Regions from separate parts of the Homo sapiens genome. Here region 2 is linked to region 1. The links are contacts of gene promoters, found by promoter capture Hi-C in human tissues and cell types (Jung and others, 2019). All regions are on one chromosome and are shown on one strand. Each heading gives the region's core, a stretch centred on a gene start or on the middle of the fragment in contact. The rest is flanking DNA. Distances are from core to core; before and after follow the strand shown. Region 1 holds the start of GLI2 (GLI family zinc finger 2). Region 2 overlaps GLI2 (GLI family zinc finger 2).

Evidence for each region. Contacts are between HindIII fragments. The study calls those that stand out against the background at their distance.
Region 2: a fragment that was not itself captured here is called in contact with the fragment with the promoter of GLI2 in region 1 in 3 of the 25 tissues and cell types used here (H1 embryonic stem cells, mesendoderm cells and thymus).

What each region holds. Positions count from the first base shown.
Region 1 is chr2:120,734,067-120,737,765 of GRCh38, reverse strand. GLI2 (GLI family zinc finger 2) reads right to left here and starts at 1,898. Exons shown (of 14, transcript NM_001374353.1): 1 at 1,481-1,898. LOC124906073 (a long non-coding RNA gene) reads right to left here. Exons shown (of 3, transcript XR_007087219.1): 3 at 2,916-3,699. It overlaps LOC124907881 (a long non-coding RNA gene), which reads left to right and starts at 105. Exons shown (of 2, transcript XR_007087221.1): 1 at 105-1,205. RefSeq lists enhancers at 1-193, 194-694, 1,813-1,982, 2,622-3,269. The HindIII fragment of the contact is 8,822 bases long and covers 1-3,699 here.
Region 2 is chr2:120,820,364-120,824,062 of GRCh38, reverse strand. The region is part of intron 2 of GLI2 (GLI family zinc finger 2); the gene reads right to left. Among named protein-coding and RNA genes, the nearest start is that of GLI2, 86 kb to the right of the region's middle. RefSeq lists a silencer at 250-461 and enhancers at 1-757, 1,594-2,259. The HindIII fragment of the contact is 6,634 bases long and covers 1-3,699 here.

The DNA of each region.
Region 1 (3,699 bases), core at 649-3,148:
TTTACTTTCAAATTCTCCTACATCCCCCAGAGCCTCGTCTGCAAACAGCCTATGAGCGTTTTACAACTGCTCCCTTTATCTGAAGCTGTCGGGATTAAACCTTCACACGCCCGGCAAGAGCGGCGGAGAGGGGGCCCGGGACACCGCTGCGGCCACCGAGCTGCAAAGCCCGTGCCAGAGGTCGCGCACCGAGCGGGATGCCCGGGCTGGGGGACAGAGGGACGCCTACAAGACTCCCAGGGCGCGGGACCAGACAGTAGGGACAGGTCTACTTTTCCAGCTGGGATCAACTCTAGGAGCCACAGAACAATTACACAAAAGAGAAGGTAGTGGAAAGAGGCACCCTCGGGGGGGCTCGAGGTCCCCGAGAGCCTCAGCGACCGATCACCCAGGGTGAGGCGCACGGGCTCCATCCCCAGCTCCCCGCGCGGTAAAAGTCGGGTTTCCTAGGAAATGACAGCAGTTACCGCCGGGCTGAAAAGGCGCCGAGCTGGGTGGACTCCCAGCTCTCCAGCGCGGCGGGCGCGCTCACACTCACACACGCAAGCACACGCTCCCTCCCAGCTCCCCGCCCCCGCCCCGTCCGGGGAAAAGACTCCCCTCTCTAAACCCTTAATAGGATTGGCGCCCAACTCTCTCCGCGCCTCTCCCCATCCATCACATACAGATCAAGTTGCAGTAGTGGATTTTTCAAATTCCTCAGCAAATATACTTGTTGAGAGATTGTCGGGGGTGGGGAGAGACGATGAGTAGGGGGGCAGGGATGAAAGTGAGGTGGAAGGGGGAACCGGAGGACCCGGCAAAGGATTACGTGCGGATCCCTTTGGGAAGTCAAGCGGATCTCAGGGCCGAGGGCAGGAGAGGAGGAGAAGAGAGGCAAAGAGGGGGGGCCGAGGAGGAGAGCCCAGCAGAGGGGGAGGGGGCGGCCGGGCCGGGCGAGGGGGAGGAAGGATTGAGGAAGGAAGAAAGAAAGGCAGGGCTCCGGGACGCGCAGCGCGGAGAAGTGGAGTTCGAAGTTCTCAAGTGGCTGGCTGCAGCCCCTCCGCGCTCAGTACGCCCGCAGACACGCTCCCATGCCCACCTACGGCAGCTTCGGAGCATCCCAGCCTCCGATCCCACCCTCCACCCCCTGAAAAAACAGACCCCCGCCGGCGCGCGGAGGCCGGCTCGCTGTGCACCCCGAGAAGAGTGGTGCTCTCCCCCAGGTAGGGAGAGGGTGCAACATCGACCTCTGGCCACGAGCTCCAAGCCCCAGGACTCTCCTTACGTCCCCGCCCTGCTCGTCCAGAGCCCCAGGCGGGGTCGCGCCTACTAGCCTCTAGTCCCCCGAAGCCCAGGGCCCCGATCCCAAGGCCTAGGCGCCGGTACCCGGCCGAGGGACCCCCCGAGACGGCGCAGCATCCCAGTCGGCCCGCGCTTGGCCGAGGTGGGAGGCGCTTCGTCACGAAAAGCAAGCAAAAGAAGGCCAATGCAACTTTACCGAGAGAGACAAAAGTTTGCCTCTAGCACGCAGGTGGCCTCTCGGGCGCCGGGCGGTGGCTGTGGGCCCCCATCCCACCTTGGCTGGCGCGGCGACCCTCGGCTGGCTGCCTTGTGCCGGGGCTCCAGCCAGCCGGGGCGGGGCGGGCCAGGCAAGAGAGGGGACCGAGAGGCGGGCGGGCGCCGCGCAGCCCCTACCGCCGGCGAGCAGGCGGCTCCCCGAGGCTGCGGCGCGCCGCGCGGCCCAAGCTCTTTCCTCCGGCTCCTCCTGCGGCTCCTGGCCTTCCTCCGCGTTCGCAGTCGCAGCCGCCGCCGCCGCCCGCTCCTCCTCGAAGTCTCATTGATGGGAGTTTGAAAAAAAGTCCGCGGAGCCGTGCTGCCTCGGCTGGCAAGCGCCGGCACTTCTGCAATCCATCAGCGCCGCCGGACTGCGCAGCGCCCCCGCGCGCACGGTGCGGGCACACCCGGGCCCCAAGAACCCGCCAGCCAGCCCGCCCGCTCCCTGCCGGGGGACGCAGGGGGACCCGAACGCCGCCGGGGCGGGGGGAGGGGAAAGGGGGAGCACAGGGACTCTCCCCACCCAGCACCAAGGAAAGAAAACGCACCTACAAGGAAAGTTCGAGAAAGGAACCAAAGGACGCGCCAATCTCCGACACTTTTTTTAGACGACTAGGTGTGGGGGGGGGGGTTGGGGGTGTCGCTAACTCAAGTCAGATGAGCTCCGGAGCTGAGGGGCAAGGGCTGCTCTGTTTTCAATCTCTGAAATCCCCCCGCCCTCCCCACCTCCCACTTCCCTCCTCGGGGAGATGCCTGGGTCGCTGTTCCCAGGGCGCCCGCTTCTCTGGACGCCCGCGCGGAAGCCGGGGACGCCAGAGAAGGGACGCGGGGGCTGGGTCCACGCGGACCCTCTTCCCGCGGGCAGCGAGCGCAGGTGCCGGGGGTCCTGAGGCGTCCCCCGCCGCCGCTAGCCCTCGTCGCCATCTGAGCACACGCTGGCGAGAAACGAAGCAGCCTTCTAGGTTTGGTGCATGTGGCTTGCAGGGTGGGTTTTTGTTTTGTTGTGTTGTGTGTTTTAGAGACTCCACTCGAGCCGCTGAAGCCAGATGGAAGTAATCAGAACCCAACAACAACAGAGAAAGAAGGAAGAAAAAACTCCTCATTGAATTTTCTAGCCAAAGTGTATATGGGGCTGTGTGTGAAAGAACTTGCTTAAGCAAGCTCAGTGAGGAGCCCTGGGCCCTCAAGCCACACCACAGCCCGGAACTGGGCCGCCAGGCTTGGAGGAGAATTGGGGGCAGCTGGCTAAAGTGTCCTCCCCACACCCCCGGGCCTGCCACCCTCTCCAGGGCCCCTGGGCCTCACCCGAAGAGGGTCTTGGGGGGAATTTCTGGTTTTATTCTTCCTAACGTTTGTAGAACACTCTACCAAGTGCCAGGTGATGTTATATTTTCTTTGTATTATTGGACTTTCACAGCTCTGTAAGGAAGGTTCTCTTCTCGTGTTTTTACAGGTGGGAAGTCTGATGCTTTAAAAAGTTAAGTAACTAGTCTAAGGTCAGAGCACTCTGCCATCCTCCCAGAGCTTCGGGTGGTTGTACTGTAAGTTCAGTTAAATTTGCCCTGTTGGGCCGGGCGCGGTGGCTCACGCTTGTAATCCTAGCACTTTGGGAGGCCGAGGCACGGGGATCACCTGAGGTCAGGAGTTCAAGACCAGCCTGGCCAACATGGTGAAACCCCGTCTCTACTAAAAATACAAAAAATTAGCCAGGGATAGTAGCGCGCGCCTGTAATCCCGGCTACTTGGGAGACTGAGGCTGGAGAATCTCTCAAACCCCTTGGGAGATGGAGGTTGCAGTGAGCCATGATGGCGCCACTGCACTCCAGCCTGGGTGATGGAGCGAGACTCTGTCTCAAAAAAATAAATTAATTAAATTAAATTTTTAAAAAATTGCCCTGTTGAGGTGGGTGGAAGTGTCTCTCCCTTCAGCCCCTGTTCCTAAAATTGCATTTTATTTGAAATGCAAGGGACCCAATGCTACCCTCCCTGAGGGGATGTGACCTACACAGGCCCATTTCACCGGTGCAACCCTTTTTGTGGGTGGCTCTCTCCATATACCTTTTATCCTCTGCTAACTTTATTCTTTTACTTTTTAATCAAAGAGGATGCATTAGAACTTCATTCCTTAAGATCCTCCTTCCTCCTCCTGACATTCACTTATAT
Region 2 (3,699 bases), core at 663-3,162, 86 kb before region 1:
GACGAATCAGAAAAACCTGGTTCTTTCTTTGTTAAATAAAGTTAATTCACCATAGAATTCCATTAATTAATGAACTGCCTTTATGCCCATAAAATATGAATAATTTTGGTCCATGCATGGTTTTACAGGAATACGGCAAATTACACAGTGACGTGGAATGGCAGGGCCACCAGGAATGTGAACCCTTTTGTGGGTGCAGAAAGGAAACCCCTCCCTTGGCCTGCATGGTACTGCGCCTTCGCCTAGGCCTATCGGAATCCCACACGGCTTCACTTCCGCACATGCCACAAGCTCCCAGGGAGTGGCTCCATCTGCCCAGAGACATCCCCGGGACTCCACCCTGAGGCCCAGCTCTCCTCTCCACAGCCCACAGCCGGGAGATCTTCCCATAAGAGAATCAGGGAAGGATTCCGATCCCTGCCTTCCAATGCTAGGCATTCCATAGATGTCCCCAGGCTACCCACTTCTGTGTGCTCCCCACATCCCACAGCAAAAATGCTATAAGAGGGCAGATCAGAAAGAATGTCACATCACTCTCTCATCCTCTCCCACTAGCAGCTCCAGCCCGAATGCTCTGTGGTGTTAAAGCACACTTCAGCGTGTACTGGGCGAGTGATGTCCCTCTCTGCCTCCTCCACACCTGCCCAGGGACTGGAACCTGCACCCAGAAATGTGGGTTTACTTAATGATGGGGGGGATTTCTCCCCCAGCCCCACACACAACTCCAGTCCCTTCCCCCCACTGTATGGCTAAATTTATAGATTTGGGATTGCTGTAAATTATAATGTAATTATATCACACCGGGGGCAGCTTCCCACGGCAGAAATTAAAAAGCAATTCAGGTAAATGATCTTTAGCTACAGTGGAGCGTCCCTGCAGAACTCATTAAGTCCGGGACCAAACGGCATACCAAAGACGGTGTGCGGCCGCTGCATGTCAAACACAGCCTCGCCTGGGAAACACACAGCCGGGTGGCGGGGGGTGCAGGGGGTGGGAGCAGGTTCCCTGTTGGGATGTCCTTCATCCACCTCTCACATCCACCTCTGTGCACACCTGTCCAGGTGTCTCCTCCAATGCCCCCTCAGCCTCCCAGTCCTAGACCACTCCTGCAAGATTCCCCTTAGAGAAGGAAACTCAAGGTTGCCTGAGGAAGAGCTAGGGTAAGGGGCAGAAGATGGGTTCAGAGTGTACTGAAAATAAAATCAGATGGGAAATTTGCCATTTGGGTTGCATTCGTACCATTTCCTCTGAAGCTTTGAATTTCAAAAGCCCAGGGAGTTACTTTTGTGTGTTTTGTTGTTGTATTTTAACGTCCTTAATTGAACCTTCCATTGGAAGGGAAGTATGGCATGGAAAGAAAGAACTGGAAAGAAACATACTAACATGTGAGTGAGGGTCATCCTTGGGAGGTGGAATCAGGGAAGAACATAATGATATGTTCATTGGGCTTTTCCACAGTCATCACATTTTCAATCACTTTAATAATCAGAAAAATAGTAAACAGGTGATTTGCGGAGGCATTTCCATTTGCTATCCTTGTGACCTTCAGCCACATGCAAAGGGGTGGAATGGGGACAGCACCATCTCTCTTGGTATTAATTGTGTCAAGTTCATGCAAGGACCCTGTGAGGGTCAGGATTCAGGGAACACAAAGGTTCTGGAGCCTTAGGGCCCATCGGGCTGTTTCCTAACACGCTTCTGAAAAGGTCATTTTGTCCCTGTCCCTTGAGCTGGACCCGCTGTGCAGGGCACTATGCCCATAGCACACTGCTGGGTCCAGGGACCACAAGAAGGCTGCTCTAACTCCAGAGACACTTTGTTGAGTTTATCACCTTCCAGACACTGTTCAGTGCTTCGCTGATAACAGCTCACTCAACCCTTGTAACAATCCTTGCACCCGAAAGGATGCTGCACAGACAAGAACTCCAAGGCCACAAGAGTTCACAGCCTTGCTCTAGGTCTCGTCCAGCTATCACTGGCATAGCAGGAACATGAACTCGGCCCACCGCCCGGTCTTAGCCACCACAGCCTCACCTCCATGTCAGAGGTGTGGAACACAGCAAAGGCCAGTTGACAAGCAGCCTGGTGGCATCCCCAGTGCCACTTTCTCCCGGCCCCCGTGGAGTCAAAGGCAAACAGGAACACATAGTGGGGGCCTCGGGTGGCAGCCCAGCCCAGGGGAAAGGAGGCTCGGTGTGACCCACCCCACTGCCATCCAGCTGGGCGGCCCTGGTGAAGAGCCTCAGCATCCCCATCTGTAAAATGGGGTTGCACCTGCCTCTGGGGGTCGCAGCACAGGCTTAGGCAACCTCGTAAAGCACTGGTTGGGGCAAAAGGGAAAAGAGGGTCTTTCTGAGTCAATGTAATAGTCCCCAAGTCTATGCACAGGCACCTCCCCTCTGTTTATTAGAAAGACGAGAGGGTGAGGAAGGGCAGTGGACCAGGCTTACTGGTCACCAGGTGTCCCACTGAGAGTGCAGGTCCCCTCCCCAGGGCCCACCAGGCTCTCTCTTCCTCATCCTCACGTTTGATGAGGCTAGGCCAGGAGCTGGTTTACAAGCCCATCCGAGGATTTGACAGTCTCGGCCAGAATGAGACCAAACTCCCTCCTCAATGCTGAGCTACCCTTCTCTGTCGCCCATAAATGTCCGCCGGATCTGCTATTTCTTTCACAGTAGAAGTTCACCCAGTGTTCTGCTCAGCTGAGCCATGGGCCCATCCCTAATTTGGACATTTTTCTCCCAACATCCAGTCAAATAGGAAAACAGATCGCACACCAGGCCTTTGCTTGTCCTAGTAAACTCTATCCATGAAGCCTAGGGGCCAAGAACCCTCCTGGCGCATCTGCACCTTTGCAACTCGAGAGAACCTCCCCCGTACAGAGGCCCCAGGAAACACTGTCCCCATCAGGTCCTGGTGGCTGCGAGCTCAGCCGCCCACGCAAGACAGGCTGCCAGTCAGGGAGGAGCAGATCATCCCAGGCTTAGTGTTCTGGGCCCTGAAAACACTTTTTGCATTTCCTCGAGGAGGTGGGTGGGTCGGCCTTGGCAAGGCATCTGAAACCACCGGGAGGCCACACACTAGTTACTGAGTCGGCACATGGCAAGCCCTTCGAAACGCCTCCTGGTCACAGACAGATGAGAAAACATGTTCTTAAGCCACCTCAGCAAACTGCTCCTCTGGCCACTCAAGACTGCACCCCAAGTGGCATAGAGAAACCCTGGAAGATGCAGTGTGGCCCACATCTGCCTGCTCCGTGGCCACTGGAACACTTGAGTGTTTGTTTAAAGAAGTCAGTCCCCTTCCCACTAGAAAAAAAGCTACCCTCTCCAGCGCTCACTCTTTCCTTCTCCACTGAAGTTTTTGCCACAGCAGAAGGCTAACTCTCACAAAGAGAAGAAACACAGACACACAGGGTGTGCACACACGTCCACACACTGGCGTGGACAGCAGCCGTCCCCGCAGGGTGTCCGGAGCCCACACATCCACAGCCAGCCTACCTGGGGGTTGCTGGGGCAGGGTCCCAGGCCAGGAGCCCACCCCCGGAGTGCCTCAAGGCAGCTCTCCGCCTCCTCCTGCCACCAGCTTCTTTGCCGCCAGCATCAGCCTCTGACGTTACTGCCTGGAGAGGGGGGAACTAATGCTCACCAGCTGGCTTGGTGATTTAACCCTCTCGGCTTCCAGGGAACTCCGGCGTCC